Regions from separate parts of the Homo sapiens genome. Here region 2 is linked to region 1. The links are contacts of gene promoters, found by promoter capture Hi-C in human tissues and cell types (Jung and others, 2019). All regions are on one chromosome and are shown on one strand. Each heading gives the region's core, a stretch centred on a gene start or on the middle of the fragment in contact. The rest is flanking DNA. Distances are from core to core; before and after follow the strand shown. Region 1 holds the start of ZNF471 (zinc finger protein 471). Region 2 overlaps ZNF583 (zinc finger protein 583).

The links. The method cuts DNA at HindIII sites, captures the fragments that hold promoters and counts their contacts. A contact is called where the count stands out against the background at its distance.
Region 2: a contact is called between a fragment that was not itself captured here and the fragment with the promoter of ZNF471 in region 1, in 3 of the 25 tissues and cell types used here (adrenal gland, spleen and thymus).

What each region holds. Positions count from the first base shown.
Region 1 is chr19:56,504,143-56,509,150 of GRCh38, reverse strand. It overlaps ZNF471 (zinc finger protein 471), which reads right to left and starts at 1,296. Exons shown (of 5, transcript NM_020813.4): 1 at 1,231-1,296. The HindIII fragment of the contact is 4,462 bases long and covers 1-2,788 here.
Region 2 is chr19:56,422,907-56,427,730 of GRCh38, reverse strand. It overlaps ZNF583 (zinc finger protein 583), which reads right to left. Exons shown (of 5, transcript NM_152478.3): 5 at 367-4,824. The coding sequence ends at 3,363. Among named protein-coding and RNA genes, the nearest start is that of ZNF583, 21 kb to the right of the region's middle. The HindIII fragment of the contact is 4,229 bases long and covers 1-3,929 here.

The sequences.
Region 1 (5,008 bases), core at 47-2,546:
TCCTGCCTAGATTGTTCTTGTGACCATCCCTTACCGTGATCAACCTACAGGCTGCCAGCCCACCAATCATTAGCATGCAAAAAGACACTTAATACTTTGGAGATTCCAAGGATCTTAGAAGTCGTAAGCCAGGAAACATAACTTTGTCCTATACTTTGATCGCCTCCCTCTCTCTCACAAACTCATAACAACATAACCTAGTCTCACTCTTTGGACTCTCACAGTTTAGTCTCTTTCTCTCTCTCATACACACACACCAGCCTCTCAAGGAGCCTCACATAATGACTGGTCTTTCACACACAGCCACGTGCTCATCTCTCTCACACTCACTGGTCTCACGCTATGTTGTCTCTCACACACGAACACACCCTGGTCTCACACTCTGGTCTCTCTCAGTCTGTCAGACACACATAACACGGCCTCACACACTGACGGGTCTTTCACCCAAAACACCCATTTCTCACACTCACTGGTCTCCCTTTCACACATTAACATACCACAGTCTCACACTCTGTTCTTGCACAGTCTAGTCTCGCATACATGGTGATTCTTCTCTCTCTCGAACACACACCGGCCTCTCATTGAGCCTCACCCACCGACCGACCGGCCTTTCACACACAGGCACACGCCCATCTCTCACACTCACTGGTCTCTCACACTCCATCCAGCCCGTCTCACTCTCTCACACGAATACATCCTGGTCTCACGCTCTGGACACCTGGTCTGTTACACACTTACACACCCACACACCTCGCAACCTCTCACTGAGCTTCACACGCTCTCTTTCAAATGCAGGCACATCCCTATCTCTCTCACACTCACTGGTCTCTCACACTGGCCCGTCTCGCTCTGTCACACACGAACATACCCTGGTCTCACACTGGACTCTCGGTCTGTCACACACACACACACACACACACAGAAACCACACCCTCTCACGGAGCCTCACACTCTGACAGATCTTTTACACACAGGCACACCCCCATCTCTCCCACAGCTCACTCCAGTGGTCCCGCCGCCCCAAGCCGCCCCGAACGCCCAGCAGCCCCGAGCCGCGGCCTCCGCCCCGCAGACTCGAGTACGCGCGCCCCGCTGGCCTCTGGGAAATGTAGTCGTCCTGGGGACAGAGGACGCGGCTGGGCCTTCGCGACCCGCGTCGGAGCCGCCCGCCTCGCCTGCCCTTCCTGGCCCAGCCCTCGAGCTCGGACTCCCAAACCACCCAAAACAAACCCCCGGCCTCGTCTGGCACCCAGACGCTCTCATCCGAAGGACTCCGTGAGTCGACGCTGGAACCCCCCATCGCGCAGGCGCCAGCCTCTCTCCAGGGGTCGGACGAGAGGGGCGGAGACAAGGCGTGGCCTAGTGTTGAGGGGATTGTCCTCGGGCTGCTGAAGGAGTGAGAGGGACCTTAGAGCAGAGCGGGCGGTGCCTGCGCAGTGCGTGATTACGCGAGCCGGGCGTGGCCCAGGGTTCCGGCGGGTAAGAGCAGGAGTGTGCGCAGGCGCAAAGATTGCGCTCTCCCCCTCTCCTCGCCTAGAGACCAGAAGCGTCCCTAGTTACTAGTTCCTGGGGCCTGGGAGGGAAACGCGCGACGGCTGAGCCTTCGGTGTGAGTACGCGTGGGGCTTTGTGACGCTGTCTGTGCCTCTGTGATCGCGATGTCATTCGGAGCGCGGCCTTCTGTGCCAGTCCGTGGGAGTGTCATTATCTTTCTGTGTTAAGCTTATTTTGGAATAAGACAGCGACGAGGAACCCCGACCGTGTTGTGACTCTGGCGAATTAATACCTCTTTCAGCTGCAAATGGGAATGTCACTGATCAGAGGCAGTGAATAACACGACGTTTTTGGAACCAATCTGCTAGGCTTGAACCGCGTTCAGCCCCTTAACAAAATGGAAATGGTCCCCGTTTTAGGGGACTAGCCCTGACTAGGAGAACTGTAGAATTAGTATTGGAAGGTGAGACAAATAAGGAAAAGCAATTCAGGGGGATACAGCAGAGAAAAAAAAATCCCTGTCCTCTTATTATGTAATTTACTTTGAAGCGGAGAGAGACAAGCCACAAATTCATGAGTTAGATAAACAGTCTGATGAACAGTAAAAAGGGCTATGGAGAAATATAACTCAGAGAAGGTTGTATCGTATACATTTTTTCTATTGTCTCTTATAATGTCTTAACATGTCAAAAAAACCTGTCTGCAGCAGACACCAGCCAGGTGACCGCTACTCCAATTCAATTCTGACGCTACCTGGAAAACATCAGATCCTACAGGTTAGACAGCTCAGTCCCAAAAGACTGTCCCCCACTTCCCATGCCAATTCCAAACTCCAGATTGTTGTACCTGTGTTTCAGAGAGATGTGCTATAAATTGGGGCTCCCACAGCCGGCTCCTTGGGTTCCATTAGTTTGCTAGAGCAGCTCACAGAACTCAAGGAAACACTTATGTTTACTGGTTTATTATAAAAGATATTTTAAAGGATACAAATAGCCAGATGAAGAGACATGTAGGGCAAGGTCCGAGAGAATCCCTAGTGCAGGAACTTCTGTGCCCGTGGAGTTGGGGTGCACCACCCTCCCAGCACGAGGATGTGTTTTTGTCTACCTTCTTGGAAGCCGCTTGAACTCAGGCCTTTTCGGTTTTCAAGGTTTCATTATGTAGATGTGATTGATTAAATCATTGGCCACTGGCGATCAACTTAATTTTCAGGCTCTCTCTTTTCCCAGAAGTAGAGGGTGGAGCTGTGAGTTCCAGTCCTCTGAGCACATGGCTGGTTCCTCTGGCAACTAGCCACCACTCCCCCCAAATATTGGGATTATCTTGAGAGTTTCCAAAAATCACCTCATTAACATAAACTCATGTGTGGTTGAAATACTGTCTTTCACCTTTATGGCTCTGGAGCTGTTCTGGAGCTTTTTCAGGAACCAGGAACAAAAGGCCAGATATTTTAACAAAAGATACTTTATTGCTGCAGTCATTTAGGAAATTAAAAGAGCTGTAGGAACTGAGAGCCATGAACTGTACCTTTCTTTCTAACTCCACATTCAGTGATGTCATATTGGTAGATTGAAATCCACCACAAGGGGACTATTTACAGTATGGAAATACAGTCTACATCGCTAAAGGATGGAGATACATTCTGAGAAATGGGTTCTTAGGCAATTTCCTAAGAACCTTGTTGTGCAAACATCATAGAGTGTACTTACACAAACCTAGATTGTGTAGCCTACTACACACCCACACTCACTCAGACTGGGACAACTTAGACATACCAGTTAACTTACTGTGCACATCTTTGGGATGTGGGAGGAATCTGGAGTACCCAGAGAAAACCCATGGAGACATGGTGAGACTAGTCAGATTGCATTAGGACCCACCCTAACGACCTCATTTCAACTTAATTAACTCTGTAAAAATCCTATATCCAAATACAGTCACATTCTGAGGTACTGGGAGTTAGGACTTCAACATGCAAAATTTGGGGCAGACAAAATTCAACCAATAACAAGAGATTATTTTGATTCTTCTGTCCTCATTCATCCCACCAAGGAAGTAAGGGGTATTTCCATTATCATACTATATATTAAATTATCATTACATTACATATATAATGTTTTCTTTATCTAATTTTTACTTTATATATACCACATTTTTGTTCATGGGCCATCAAAGGTATTATCTCACATAATTCTTGTAAAAATAAAATTGAATAACTAACTTTACAGTTGAAGATTTAAACAATAAGGGACTTTTTCCAAAGCCACACATCTAATAAGTTTCAAAGGTATTACTCTAATTCAAGTTTCTTCTTTCCAAATTCAGAACTCTTTCCATCCTGTAACAGTGCACTATTTTTAAGCTTAACTCCTTTCTGAAGAATATCAAATTTAACAACAGTGTTGGTGACCAGGTGAATTTGGATTACAAATTAATTTCTGGGACAGAATATGATATTCTCAACTTTTGGAACTTCAGGTGAGAGTTGACCAGTTTTCCCCACAGGCTCCATGTGGTCAACGTTATTTGTTTAGAATTGGAAATGGCCTTGTATGACACTGGATCCAACTTATCCTAGCTTGGGGTCAGCTTTATTAATTCTAACAAACTCTTTTTTGTTTGTTTTGAGAAAATGCAAAGTTTGTTTAATCTCTTCAGGTTTCACAACCAGTGGTAGCATAGTGAGTTTATTCACGCCATCATGTTGAATTTTATAAAAGAATCTTACATATGGTTGACTGCTAACATCTACTTGCTTAGTCCCTGAGATTTGCTTATATGGGATAGAGTAGGAATTCCTACAAAAAGAAAGAGAGGTCTGAAAGATAAAATTCCTGGAGTAGCACTGAGTCAGAGTCTCTGGCAGAATCCCAACAAACTCACAGTTCCTGATTTACAGCCCAGGGATTCTTAAACAGTGGTGCCCAAGTGTAGTAACATCATTTGATTGTCCAAACATTAGTTAGCCTCTTCCCTGCCTTATATTATAATGTTCTTCAGGGCAGAAATGACCCGTATCTTGTCCTCTGTTCCTTCTACAGTGTCTAAGTAGATGTCAAGCACATAGTGGGTTATCAATACATTTTGTTAAATGAATGAATTAAAGAAGGACAAGCTATAGCCAAAACTTTAATGGGAGTTTGATGTTTTTTGCCTTTTGCAAGAATCTTGAAGCAAGAAGAATGGATACATTTATTCTTATTATCTCTCTTTTTCATTTAAGATTGTTTACCTAGTGAGAAATCCCAGAGATATAGTTACTTTTGGTTATTATTTCTGGAGAATGAGGATGGTCAAAAATACGGAGTCATTTAAATAATATTTGGAATGGTTTCTTCAAGGATATGGTGAGTCTGACTCTAAATATGGGTTCTTGGCCAGGTGCAGTGGCTCACACCTGTAATCCTAGCACTTCGGGAGGTCGAGCTGGGAGGACTGCTTCAGCTCAGGAGTTTGAGACTGGCCTGGGCAAAATGGTAAGACCTCGTCTCTTCTAAAAATCAAAAAAATTAGCT
Region 2 (4,824 bases), core at 566-3,065, 82 kb after region 1:
CAGAGTCTCACTCTATCGCCCAGGCTGGAGTGCAGTGGCATGATCTTGGCTCACTGCAACCTCTGCCACATGGTTCAAGTGATTCTCCTGCCTCAGCCTCTCAAGTAGCTGGGATCACAGATGCCTGCCACCACACCCAGCTAATTTTTTGTATTTTTAGTAGAGATGGGGTTTCACCATCTTGGCCAGGCTGGTTTTGAACTCATGACCTCATGATCCACCTGCCTCAGTCTCCCGAAGTGCTGGGATTACAGGTGTGAACCACCGCACCCAGCCAAAGCACACTATTTTTTGACACAGTCAATTTTATCAATCTTTTCCTTTATGGTATTTGAATATTTTAGAAACACGTGTCTGACACCAAAGTCGTTAACATATCCCACTATATTTTTTCTAATACTTTTGCTTTAGTAATTTACATTTAGATTTTTATTCAGTTAGAACTTATACTTGTTAATGGTGTGAAATAAGGATCCCATTCAATTTACTTATACAAGAGAGGGGAGAGTGAGGAGGCTTTTGGCAAGGGCTACTGACATAACTTTCACATACAAAGGCTTCAAGAGGCTTTTCATCATGTCTTCTTAGAAGCCACAGCCTGTACATAAGCCAACTCCAAGCCTGAACTTCTCTAGGGATCCTTTGGGCAGACTAGATTCCATTTTTAAAACCCTTCGGTCATTCGCATATAACATGCAGCATCTTCTGCTACAATTCATGAACACTCTTCCCTGTTTTGCCTTTTACAAAATTATTTCATCCACTCAAAAGCCTCACCTTTTTTTTTTTTTTAAGAATCATTTACATTGTTCTATGTGTATAATAGAATCTGGAGGGAAAGACATTGTGTGCCGAGTTTTTGAACTTCAAAATAAAATTCTACTTTTCCCAATTAAAATTCTGAAGTTGACAAATTGCCTACCAGAGTTTGTACAAACTCATGCTCTTTTAAATTAGTGCATAGTATCTCTTTTTGTATGCTTTCAATGCAGTTTTATTAATCTGATATTGAAAAAAATAGTATTTCATTGGCCTAAACTGTATTTCTTCTGATCCTAGGGAGATTTAGTACTTACCACATATTTATTGGTCACCTGTTGCCTCTTCATATCCTTTGACTATGAGCTGGAGAAAAGCGTCATTTCCTAAGGGATTTTTATGAGCAATTTTATGTTAAGGATATGAATTCCATAGTTTATATGTGCTGCAATAATTTTCTCCCATTCTTAGGTTTAAAAAATATTGTATCTTTTACTATCTTTGATCATATAAAAGCTTTATAAAGTTCTTATACAGTCAAATCTATGACTTGTTGACAGGAGGTGGGGAGGCTTCTGAATCTCATGTTTAGGAAGGCCAGTCTCATTCCATGATTAGAGTGTGTCACAGACTCCTCTAATCACTGTTTGTTCCACATTTAGATAAAGCACTTGAAAGTAACTTTCACATATGGAATGAATTGTTGTATAGAGCACGATAAATTTTTCCAAAACTGTTAAACCACTGATGGTATAGGTCACTTTTGTTATAATTTTCTTTATATGTGTAACAGCATGAATATGTATGTTCACACATACATGTTAAAACCTTACAAAATTTATTAGAATTTTGTTAGGTAGAATCTGTAAATTAATTCATGGGCTACTGACATCAGTATGATAGTGAATCTGTCTTACCATATAAAGGATAAAATATTTATTTGTCTTCTTTTTCATCCTCCATTAAACTTTCGTCATTCTGTTTGTATCTATAGTCACATGTGAATTGATCACTGCATTGATTATATGCCAAAAGAATTCTGGGGTCAGGAAGTAATATTAAAAGAGGTCAGATGTAAAGAATCAGGGAGTGGTTTGAATGTTGGAGAAAGGGAAAACACATGGTCTGCTGAAGGTATTCATATGTATTTTAAACTTAATGCATACAGAATCAAACATGTTTGTGGGCCAGTTTATGAGAACTGACCTACAGTTTTGGTTTCTTTTCTTCACTAGTTTTGAAATTTTAGTAATTTAACAACCTTTATTATTTTAAATGACATAGATTTGATATAATTCATTCACCCAGATTTAGAACAGGGGTTCAAACTTATACTTTATTTTCTACTCATCATTGGTTACTGACTTGTTTCAAGATTTCTTTTTAATTTCGATTTTGCCTTTGTTTACATGTAAATGATGAATACATCTCAGTAAACTGTCTTATTAAAAATGACTTTTTAGGCCAGGCACGGTAGCTCACGCATGTAATCCCAGCACTTTGGGAGGCCAAGGCAGGCGGATCACCGGACGTCAGGAGTTAGAGAAAAGCCTGGCCGACATGTCAAAACCCTCTCTCTACTAAAAATACAAAAATTAGCTGGGCGTGGTGGTGCAGGCCTGTAATCCCAGCTACTCAGGAGGCTGAGGCAGGAGAATCACTTGAACACAGGAGGCGGAGGTTGCAGTGAGCCAAGATTGCACTACTGCACTCAAGCCTGAGCAACAGAGCAAGACTCCATCTCAAAAAAAAAGACTTTTAAAATAAGACATTAGCATCTTAGAACTGTTAAATATCCAGTGAATGCTGATACAAGCCACCATCTTACCCTATATCATGGACTCTAATGTAAATCCTACTGTTAGATACCCTCCTCACCTACTTTTAGAAAAATGCCTACCATTCCTAAAAAAAAAAAAACTTCACAATCTCTCAGTCCTGAGCTGCTGCATCTCTTTTTATTTCTGAGATAATCATGGCTGAGATGATTGGCTTTCTATGTATAGTATGGTTATCTTTTTACTTTACATTATGGTTTGAGTAATTACTTTATGCTAGGCACGCTGCTGAGCAATTTACATGCATTATTTCATTCTTCTATTAACTTCTGAGGTAGAACCATTATTATTCCCACACTATAAATAAGACTGAAGCTTACAAAGCACAAACTGCTGCCCCCAAATTAGAGGGCAGGAAATGGAAGTGCAAAGATTGGAACCCAGGTCTTTTTGATCCTGGAATATGTATCTTAATCCTGGATAAGTATTCAGAGAATGAGATGGATAGTGACACAAGATAGAAACTTTGGAAGGTAACCTGGAACAAGGTGTTAGAGGCTAGGTTTTTAGGCTATTTTGAAGAATGTGTGCTTTAACTTAAAAACCATGGGATGCCACTGAGGGATTTTAATGAGGGAGAAATGAGATTAAACATATTTTTAAAAATACAAATTTGGTTGCAATGTGGACATCTGACAGAGACAATGGTGAGTACAAGGAGACCAATTAGAAAGCTACTCGAGTATCCCATGTCAAATATATTAATGTGCATTGGACAAGGATGATGGGATGGAAATGGATTCAAGAGGTGGATTCCAGAAATATTCAGGAGATGAAACCTACAGGTCTTGGCAACTGATTTGATGTGGAGGGTGAGGGAGAGGAAAGAGTCAAGAATGACTCCATAGTATGAATTCTCTCATGATGAGCAAGATGTGCACGCTGCCTGAAAGATTTCCTGCAATCTTTACATTCATAGGGTCTTTCTCCAGTATGAATTCTCTGATGTAGAGTAAGAGATCCACTATAGCTAAATGCTTTCCCACAAACATTACATTCATAAGGTTTCTCTCCAGTATGAATTCTCTGATGTTGAGCAAGGCCTGCATTCTGGCTAAATGTTTTCCTACATTCCTTACACATATAGGGTTTTTCTCCAGTATGACTTCTCTGATGTTGTGCAAGTGATGAACTATTGCTAAAGGCCTTCCCACATTCAATACATTCATAGGGTTTCTCTCCAGTATGAACCCTCTGATGTTGATCAAGGTATGCAATTTGGCTGAAGGCTTTCCTACATACTTTACATTCATAAGGTTTTTCTCCAGTATGAACTCTCTGATGTTGAGCAAGGTGTGCATACTGGCTGAAGGCTTTCCTACATTCCTTACATTCGTAGGGTCTCTCTCCAGTATGAATTCTCTGATGTACAATTAGGTATCCACGATGGCTAAAGGCTTTCCCACACACATTACACACATAAGGTTTCTCTCCTGTATGAATTCTCTGATGCTGAGCAAGAAATGAACCATTACTAAAGGCCTTTCCACATTCAATACATTCGAAAGGTCTCTCTCCAGTATGAACTCTCTGATGCTGAGTCAGGTGTGCAATCTGGCTGAAGGCTTTTTTACATTCTTTACACTGATAAGGTTTCTCTCCAGTATGAACTCTCTGATGTTGGGCCAGGTGTGCATTCTGGCTGAAGGCTTTCCTACATTCTTTACATTCATAGGGTTTCTCTCCAGTATGTATTCTCTTATGTTGCGCCAAGTTTGCACTCTGGCTGAACGTTTTCCCACATTCAACACATGCATAGGGTTTCTCTCCAGTATGAATTCTCTGATGAAGAGTAAGGGATGAGCTCTGGTTGAAGACTTTCTCACAATCATTACATTTCAAAAGTTTCTTTTCTACATAGACTTTCCTATGTTTCATTTCAACAGATTTTTTTCGGTAACTTTTCTTTTGTGGTTCATGCTTATGTGCTTTTTCTTTGGTGGGAAAACTCTGTTGTATATCAAAGATTGTATCCTGGTGGAATGTTTGCCAAGATTTGTTATATTCTTTATTTTGAACTTCTGGAAGGATTTCTTTATGAGTGATGATTAATTGACTAAGATGTACCTCTTGACTTCCCAGCTGGTTCTTATACCAGTCCTCACTTTGACAGTCTTCTCTCAAACTGGGATAGTCAAGGCTATAACTAAGATGTCTTGCTCCCACTGTCACAACTTTGGATGATTCTTCATATGTCTCTTGCTTTGATGAAAATTCACTGTTTTTA